Linked DNA regions of Homo sapiens: all the other regions are linked to region 3. Evidence: promoter capture Hi-C in 16 types of primary human blood cells and fetal thymus (Javierre and others, 2016). All regions are on one chromosome and are shown on one strand. The core of a region is centred on a gene start or on the middle of the fragment in contact, and the rest is flanking DNA. Distances in the headings are between cores, read along the strand shown.

Region 1 (3,278 bases), core at 189-2,688, 82 kb before region 3:
ATGCCTATAATCCCAGTACTTTGGGAGGCTGAGGCAGGGGGATCACCTGAGGTCGGGAGTTCAAGACCAGCCTGACCAACATGGAGAAACCCCGTCTCTAATAAAAATACAAAATTAGCCAGGCGTGGTGTTGCATGCCTGTAATCCCAGCTACTCGGGAGACTGAGGCAGGAGAATCTCTTGAACCTGGGAGGCAGAGGTTGTGGTGAGCCAAGATCGCACCATTGCACTCCAGCCTGGGCAACAAGAGTGAAACTCCGTCTCTAAATAAACAAATAAATAACCTAAATTTTAAAATAAAAAAATCTTTGACACTCTACCTTTCAGCTGTCAGTGGAAACCACTTAGGTAGCTATGAAGCAATTCTGCAAATATTTTATGGAATTCTATATTTGCCAGAGTATAATAGAAAAAACTAGGCCGGGACTGGGCGTGGTGGCTCGTGCCTGTAATCCCAGCACTTTCGGAGGCCGAGGCGGGTGGATCGCCTGAGGTCAGGAGTTTGAGACCAGCCTGACCAACATGGTGAAACCCTGTCTCTACTAAAAATACAAAAATTAGCCAGGGGCTTGTAATCCCACCTACCTGGGAGGCTGAGGCAGGAGAATCACTTAAACCCAGGAGGTGGAGGTTGCAGTGAGCTGAGATCACACCATTGCACTCTAGCTCCTGGGCAAGAGAGCGAGACTCCATCTCAAAAAAAAAAAAAAAAAAAAAAAAAGAAGTCCGGGTGTGGTGGCTCACACCTGTAATCCCAGCACTTTGGGAGGCTGAGGCAGGTAGTTCAGCTGAGGTCGGGAGTTCGAGACTAGCCTGACCAACATGGAAAAACCTCGTCTCTCCTAAAAATACAAAATTAGCCAGGCGTGTTGTCGCATGCCTGTAATCCTAGCTACTTGGGAGGCTGAGGCAGGAGAATCATTTGAACCCAGGAGGTGGAGGTTGCCGTGAGCCGAGATCATGCCATTGCACTCCAGCCTGGGCAACAAAAAGAAAAACAAAAAAAAAAGAAAAAAAACTAGGCTGGGCTCAGTGGCTTATGCCTGTAATTCCAGCACTTTGGGAGGCTGAGGCAGGAAGATCACTTCAGTTCAGGAGTTTGAGATCAGCTTGGGCAACATAGCAAGACCTCATCCTCTACAAAAAATAAAAAAAATTAGGTATGTTGGCATGTGCCTGTGGTCCTAGCTACTCTGAAGGCTAAGGCAGGAGGATCTCTTGCGCCTGGGAGATGGAGGCTGCAGTGAGCCATGATCATACCACTGCAGTCCAGCCTGGGTGACAGAGTGAGACCCTGTCTCACAAAAGAAAAAAAAAAACAAAAACTACTTGAGTCAGCGAGTACATAGAACATTTCAGAGCCTCAGCTTGTATACTGCATGTTATTCTGAAACTACAGATACCACGTAGCTTTCTAATGAAAAAGTTTTATTTGTTTCTTCCTTTCTTTTATAGGAATATATATGTCCCAGATGTGAATCAGGCTTTATTGAAGAAGTGACAGATGATTCCAGGTATTGTACAAGCTCATGAATAAATCAGACATTCTATTATCAAAACTATTTTCTCTCAGCATGGACTGAGTAAGTTGAATTTGTTTTACAACTTACACTCTACAGAGAGAGCGAGAGTGAGAGAGAGAGAGTGAGTGCATGAGCTTGCACAAGAGAGGGCAGAAGAATGGGAGAGGAAAAAGAAAGAAAAATGGGAAAATTTGGAAAGTGATATCATAGCAGATGTGGTGATACGCACTGCTCCTGATTGTATGTGGCATTCCATGTACATCTGTACGCATGTCAGAGTAAATCTGGTAAGTTTTCATTTATTATCTGAGACTTGGGGCTTCTCTTAGATTATTAGTTGGTTTTTAGTGACCACTCTGCTGTCTGAAGGTAAACTGCTGTTATACCTCTTTGGCGGGTTAGGGAGTGACTTCTGACAAAGATACCTAATCAGGTAAACAGGCTGTTCTAGCCAGGAAAACCAATTGTTACTCTGCTTTGAGGAGGCCTTGAATCTCTTGTTCTTATTAAGGTTATTTGGCCAGTGTGGTGGCTCACGCCTGTAATCCCAACACTTTGGGAGGCTGAGGTGGGTGGATCACCTGAGGTCAGGAGCTCAAGACCAGCGTGGTCAACATGGTGAAACCCCGTCTCCATTAAAAACACAAAAATTAGCTGGGTATAGTGGCGGGCGCCTGTAATTCCAGTTACTTGGGAGGCTGAGGCAGGAGAATCACTTGAAACCGGGAGGTGGAGGTTGCAGTGAGCCAAGACTCCAGCCTGGGCAACAAGAGTGAAACTGTGTCTCAAAAAAAAGAAAAAAGAAAAGATTATTGCTGTCAAACTTAGGCCATCTTTCCAGGGTGATATTAATATATGGGTTTGTAATGCTTGGAATTTGTTCTTATTGGCCTTCATAAAGGTATACAGCTGATAAAAAGGGGAAATATTTCTGAAAGTGACTATTACATATTCCTTTTTTGTTTATGTGAACAAAACTATAAAATCTTTTTTCTTTTTTCTTTTTTTTTTGAGACAGAGTCTTGCTCTGTTGCCAGATTGGAGTGCAGTGGTTCGATCTCGGCTCACTGCAACCTCTGCCTCCCAGGTTCAAATGATTCTTGGGCCTCAGCTTGCCCAGTAGCTGGGACTACAGGTGTCTGACACTATGCCCTGCTAATTTTTGTGTATTTTTAGTAGAGATGGGGTTTTGCCGTGTTGGCCAGGCTGGTCTTGAACTCCTGACCTCAAGTGATCCGCCTGCCTTGGCCTCCCAAAGTGCTGGGATTACAGGCATGAGCCACCGTGCCCAACCTAAAATCTTTTTCTTTTTTTTTTTTTTTTTTTTGTGACGGAGTCTCACTCTTTTGCCCAGGCTGGAGTGCAAGGGCACGATCTTGGCTCACTGCAATCTCTGCCTCCCAGGTTCAAGTGATTCTCCTGCCTCAGCCTCCCAAGTAGCTGAGATTACAGGCATGCACCACCACGCTTGGCTAATTTTTGTATTCTTAGTAGAGATGGGGTTTCACCGTGTTTGCCAGGCTGGTCTTGAAGTCCTGACCTCGTGATCCGCCCATCTTGGCCTCCCAAAGTGTTGGGATTACAAGTGTGAGCCACTGCACCTGGCCTAACTTAAAATTTTAATAAATTTTAGAATAGCATTGATAGGATGGCCTCTTTTGGCTAAACAAAATGGCACATTTGTTCTTTTGGGGCTATTTGGTTAAACATTCGTCTGAAAATTGAAGAAGTACCGACTGGTCAAAAAGAATCTGT
Region 2 (3,008 bases), core at 8-2,507, 98 kb before region 3:
GGGATCAAATTTCAACATGAGATTTAGAGGGGACACATATCCAAACTATATCAGCTATATTCAGGAAGAAGTACGGAGATTAATAAAATGTTGAGAAAAATGGGTAGTAAAATCAGGATTTAAATATTTTCTTCTCCTTTTGGCTTTCTTTAAATTTAATATTTATTTATTTATTTATCTATTTTATTTTTTTGAGATGGAGTCTTCCTCTGTTGCCCAGGCTGGAGTGCAGTGGCACGATCTCAGCTCACTGAAACCTCTGCCTCCCGGGTTCAAGCGATTCTCCTGCTTCAGCTTCCTGAGCAGCTGGGATTACAGGTGTGGGCCACAATGCCCAGCTAATTTTTGTATTTTTAGTAGAGACGGGGTTTCACCCTGTTGGCCAGGCTGGTCTTGAACACCTGACCTCAAGTGATCCACCCGCCTCAGCTTCCCAAAGTGCTGGGATTATAGTCGTGAGCCACTGTGCCTGGACTTAAATTTAATATCTCATTTAAACATTAAATTAATGTAGCTATCTCTGGATTAGAGCAAATGCCTTTTTGCCCATTTCAGGTCTGAGATATTGTTGTTGTAAGAACTAACAACTAGCCCTCATTTTGCAACTGTTGTCAGCCCTTTTTATAGCTGATTTTATTTATTTTAATTAATTATATATAAATTGTATTCTAGTACTGTGGGAAAAAATGTTTTATTTTAGCTGTTAAATTATTGAACCTTTCAGGGTCTTCATTTTCCTTGTCTGTAAAATGAGATAGTTGTGTTTATTCCTGCTAGCTACGGTTTAGTGATTTGAGCTCTGGGGTATTTTTGGATTTTGTGTAAGGGAATTTTCTTCTGTAGTTTTTCCACATAGATCATGTGGTAGCCACTGACATACTAGGATTTAAATTTTACCCCTGAAATAATCTCCTTTATGAGTTACAAACTATTAGTGCATATTTTATCTTATAATGATGAACAGTCTTGAAAATGTTAGGATGGAGGACATAATGCAAAGCAATGTCAAAATTTTCCTTTTATAAATCAAACAAAGCAATAATGCTGGTAATGTTGACTGAATAAATTAAAACTTCATTTTTTTTTTTTTTGAAGACTTGGGATTCAGTAACAGGTAAACTTGGCCTGGATAATTTTTTTTTTAGAACTATTTTATAAATATTCTTTGTTTGCTTTGAGGTTGCATTTACATTGCTTTTGTTTTTAAAGTTGTATTCAGTTAATTAATTGTTTTCTTAATCCAATGGTCAGTGGCTACTGTTAACAACCAGTTTGTATGTGATCTTTCCTGACTTGAATGTTCCTGCTGTGAGTTGAATTAGATCATACTTGTGAAATTCTCCTATGTCATTGATGGCAAGTCAATGCTAGAATTCCAAGTATTACTTTTATTTCGATGAAGAGTTCTCAGTCAGAAGCTCTGATTGCTCTGTGGGTACATGGTAAAATAGTACTTTTTAAAATGAAATGGTGATGGTAGATGGTTTTTTTTTTAATATTTATACTTGGCAAAATAAAAAAGCTGGCAATCCTTGCAGGTTTCCAATTTTTTAATTTGAAAATTGAACTGCTTTATGGGAACCAAAAGTATGGAAATCAGTAGTCTAGATCAGTGTTTCTCAAACTGTGTGCCAGGAGATTTAATAGGAGTTCAGAATTATGGTAAAATATTGCATACCAAATTGTTGCCCTATCTCCATCCCTCCACTTCCCCTTTTATGACATGGAATGGCATATTAATGGTTCTGAAAAATCATTCATTAAAGCAGCATGTTTGATATTTAGTTCAGGCTTTTCTAAATCTAGTTTTTCTCCCCACCTTAACCACTGGTTAATATCCTGTGAAACGTGGTTTGAGAAATATTCCATATCCAAATCACTCAGAATAATTTATTAGAACCTACAGTTTGTTGAGAATTTAGTATATTCCCGGTACTATCTCATTTAGATGAAGTGAGCTACCCAGTGTCACACAACTGGTTGGTTATTCTGTGTTTCCAGTCTGATTGTGTGTGTGTGTGTGTGTGTGTGTGTGTGTGTGCATGCATGCATGCATTTAAGGTGGACAACATGATGTTTTGAAGTGCACATACATAGTTGAAATGATTACCAGTCCAGCTTTGTTTTGCTTCACATTCATTACTCTAACCACTTAGGCTGTTCTGAAGCATTGCTTAGTTCTCATTTCGAGGCTAAGTACCTAAGACTAGGATATTCAGAAGTTCATTTTATATGCCTTTTGACTTCCCTAACTACTAGAATATGGTTAAGGGAAGTATGATTTTATCAGAGCATATACTTTGTAGGTGATTTTAGTGACTTTTAATCCCAGGTTATTTTTCTTTCTACACAATGCTTGGAATGTAGAGCTTAGAATTTTTGCTGAGTGAATGAATGTTGTCACTTTGTCAAAGAAGATTCTGTCAGCCTAAGCTAAAAGCAAGAAAGTACATTTTACTTCTAAACTATTGTGGTACACATCAGAGCTAAACATCTATACTTTTTGGCTCATTTATCATTTTATATTTATGCCACTGGGTTGTTCCCTTTCTTGCTGCCTTTAGTGTGAGCAAGCCAAAAACACTATAAATCTTTTCTGCTATATTATGTTGTCTGAGGTTAATTAACATTTTCTCTGGTAATTCTTGTAGTCCTGTGTGTTTCTTCCTTAGAAAATTTGGCTTCTTGACCATCTGATCAAGCTTGTATCAAGTAACACTTTGTCTTGTGACCTGATTTTCTGCCTTGGTACACAATGAGCTAAAGAAGCTTGGTTGATTATGCACTCCTGTTTGGAATCTGTAATGTCAGTGTTCAATCATGGCCTGAATTAAGGAACAAAATGATAAAGGTGGCTGGGTGCGGTGGCTCACGCCTCTAATCCCAGCACTTTGGGAGGCTGAGGCAGGTGGATCACTTGAGGTCAGGAGTTCAACACCAGCCTGGCCAATGTGGTGAAACCCATCTCTACTAAAAATACAAAAATTAGCTGGGCATAATGGCGGGCA
Region 3 (3,036 bases), core at 357-2,856:
AGGTGAGACCCAGAGAGTTAAAAATGAATTACTCTGGATCAAACACCTGGGAAATGGGAAATGGTGGCGTCAGAATTGAACTCAGGTGTTCTTTCTTTCTTTTTTGTTTTGTTGTTTTTTTTTTGGAGACAGGGTCTCGCTCTGTCATTGAGGCTGGAGTGCAGTGGCATGATCACGGCTCACTGCAACCTCTGCCTCTCAATCAAGTGATCCTCCCACCTCAGCCTCCAGAGTAGCTGGGACTACAGGCATGCACCACCATGCCTGGCTTTTTGTACCTTTTGTAGAGACAAGGTTTTGCCATGTGGCCCAGGCTGGTTTCGAACTCTTGAGCTCAGGCAATCTGCCCGCTTTGGCCTCACAAATTGCTGGGATTGCGATGAACTCAGGTGTTCTGATCCTAAATCCAGATTTTCCCATTCTACCTTCTGCTTTGAAAGATATAGAGGAGGCCAGGAGGGCTTAGCCCCGAGGTGGAGGAAGATAAGCTGGTATGAGGAAGCTGCTCAATGTCATTTTAAACCGTTTATCCATGGGCTCAGGTCATGTCTTTGTTGGGGGCCAAGCCAAGGCCCAGCAAAGACAAATGGCTCTTCCAGTGTGGGTGGAAGAGGGGTGAGGTCACCCAGTCCTCGGCCTGTGGTTTGCTTTGCCTCAGTGCCGGGAGCAATCTCTTGCCCTGATTTGCATTGTGGGCTGAGGATTCAGGTCAGTGAGAAGGCCAGTGATAGAATTGTCTGTGTGGGTGCTGCTGATAGGGATCAGCTGCTGATCATGGCTAGGGCTAGCGGCTGAGCACACGGGCACCAGCCTACTGCTCGGGCAGCAAGGCAGCAGGATGGAGGGGTTTGTAAAAATGCCTTCCACCTACCCTGCTGGGCTTGCCCGAGAGGCTCTGAGTGTGTGAAGGGGAAGACAATTATCGCTAGGCTGGAGAATAGAAAGAGCACCATCAGGTGAGAAAGAGAAGAAAAAAAGAGAGGGGAGAGAGTGGATAAGAAGAAGGAAGCCTGGGACACAAGAACAAGGGCTTTGCTTGCTCTAGGGCTTTGCTTGCTAAACTCCTAGGGAGCACACAAGTGAGAATCCAGGGCAGAGGGAAGCAGGATGGGTGCCCTGAGTGCTTGGCCCCATTTCCTGGGGCTTACTGGCCTCGTGGGTGGGAGTTTTATAGGCTACTGCTCCTTGGGGAGGCCTCAGTGATTGAGGATACTCCTGTATGAGCCTCGGCCCTGACCCCAGGATGGGGGACTGGAGGATCCTAACAGGATTGGGGGTTGGTTGGGTGTAACCAAGGTATCTGCCAAAGGGAGAGTACCAAGGAAAGCGGAGGCACCTCCTCCCTGGCTGTCCTTCACCCCCTCTCCCCTCCTTGTTCTCTGGGAGTGGCTGGCGAGCAGCGGCCTCCCCGCAGGGCCAGGCAGGTGGGCCAGAGCTTTTGGTTTGCTGAGGTTTGTCAGATTTTCCAGCTCAGGGCCCAGCCAGCTGGCAGGAAGCAGGACAGAGGTCACTTGAATTCAGACCACATGTCCCTGTTAAATACATTAGCTTTTAAATCAATCTTTGTTCAAAGTCCAGTGAGTTGCAAGCTTAATGCTCACCTGCAGAGACAGAATTCCTGAGTGAACGAACAGAGCAGCTCCTCTTCCATCTCCAGGTAAGAACTGCTCGTGTCCTCCTTGAGGGTGCTGGCCACCGGGGCCTGAACTACCTTCTTTCTTTTCCTTTTCCCTTTTTCTTTTTCCAAGCCAGTAGCTGGCTGTCTAGGGCAGAGAAGAGTCCCATGGGGAGGCAGCCAGGCCCCTTTGGCGGTGGTTGGGGGTGAGAGATGATCCACGCTCTGAGATTCTTTCTGCTGGAGATGCCCCTCACCTTTGTAGGCTAGGGTCTGCTTCACAAAGAAATTGGTAAACCGACCTCAGAAAAAGCCTTCCCGGGGTTGTGTGGGGGTTTGATGTGCAGCCAAAGGGAGTGAGACAACTGACTTCACAGGTAACCAGGCGGATATGCCCGGGACCTTCCTACTGATACAGGGGCCTTGGGTAGCAGAGAAGACTCTTCTGGAAGCAGCCTTTAAAGGATGCAGCCTAACTTAGCTTGCCCACTAGATAATAAAAGCAGGCATCTTTCCTCTCTGTATCACACTGCAGCACTAAGACATGAGAAAAACCAGTGGATTTCCAGGCTGGCTGAATTTTAAAACATACATTCCCCAGGCTCTCACCTTTGGCATTTCTAAGTCTCCAGGCCTTGTGTGAATTGAAAGATCTTTATTTGAAAACTCTCCCAGAATCATTCTGATCAGTGCAGGTAGGTTTGGGAACCACTAGTAGTTTATTTCTTAAGCAGAAGACTCATGAGACTTAAGTATGACACTTACCTAAGGGTTCACTCGCTATGAAGACTCCTGGTCTGGGTTGGGTCCAGCTATGAAGATTTGGGCGTTGGCTCTGAGAAACACATTCTTCTTTATTTACTAAAATCTCTGCAATGTGTCACCAGGGCAGCTTTCAGTCTTGTATCTAGAAGGCAAGAGGGGGTAGCAGGGACTGCCTCAGGCCATGATTGTCCAGTCATCTGAAGTCTGCAGCAAATTACTCAGGGTCTTTGAATTTCTGTGTTATGATAGTAACTTGTGCTTATCTTTGACTTTTGTATGTTCTCTGCACCATAGGGTGTGAAGTTGCTGGTAATGATGTCTTATATTCATAGACCACTGGCTAGGCAGCTACTTCTCCCCCAGGGGAAAGAACATAGGACTGGAATACAAATCATCAGAGTTTTGATTCAGTTGCTAGTGACAGGCCATTAGACAAACTACTTAGCCAACTGGAGCCTCAATTTCATTATTGATCAAGTGAAGGTCTGTCATCTTTTCCCCAAGAGTGTACTGAAAATAAAATTATAAGTACAAATGTGTGGTCCTGCATGGTGGCTCATGCCTGTAATCCCAGCACTTTGGGATGCCCAAGCGGGAGGATCACTTGAGGCCAGGAGTTCGAGACCAGCCTGGGCAATGAAGTGAGACCCCCGTCT

Evidence for each region. Contacts are between HindIII fragments. The CHiCAGO score rates a contact against its expected background, and 5 or more counts as called.
Region 1: a fragment that was not itself captured here is called in contact with the fragment with the promoter of PDZK1 in region 3 in 1 of 17 cell types (erythroblasts); the score reaches 5.9 in erythroblasts.
Region 2: a fragment that was not itself captured here is called in contact with the fragment with the promoter of PDZK1 in region 3 in 2 of 17 cell types (M2 macrophages and erythroblasts); the score reaches 7.1 in M2 macrophages.

The regions. Positions count from the first base shown.
Region 1 is chr1:145,787,144-145,790,421 of GRCh38, reverse strand. It overlaps RNF115 (ring finger protein 115), which reads left to right. Exons shown (of 9, transcript NM_014455.4): 2 at 1,456-1,514. Among named protein-coding and RNA genes, the nearest start is that of RNF115, 35 kb to the left of the region's middle. The HindIII fragment of the contact is 5,543 bases long and covers 1-3,278 here.
Region 2 is chr1:145,803,533-145,806,540 of GRCh38, reverse strand. All of the region lies in intron 1 of RNF115 (ring finger protein 115), which reads left to right. Among named protein-coding and RNA genes, the nearest start is that of RNF115, 19 kb to the left of the region's middle. RefSeq lists an enhancer at 1,049-1,557. The HindIII fragment of the contact is 2,887 bases long and covers 1-2,700 here.
Region 3 is chr1:145,705,938-145,708,973 of GRCh38, reverse strand. PDZK1 (PDZ domain containing 1) reads left to right here and starts at 1,606. Exons shown (of 9, transcript NM_001201325.2): 1 at 1,606-1,657. RefSeq lists an enhancer at 1,359-2,558. The HindIII fragment of the contact is 4,747 bases long and covers 1-3,036 here.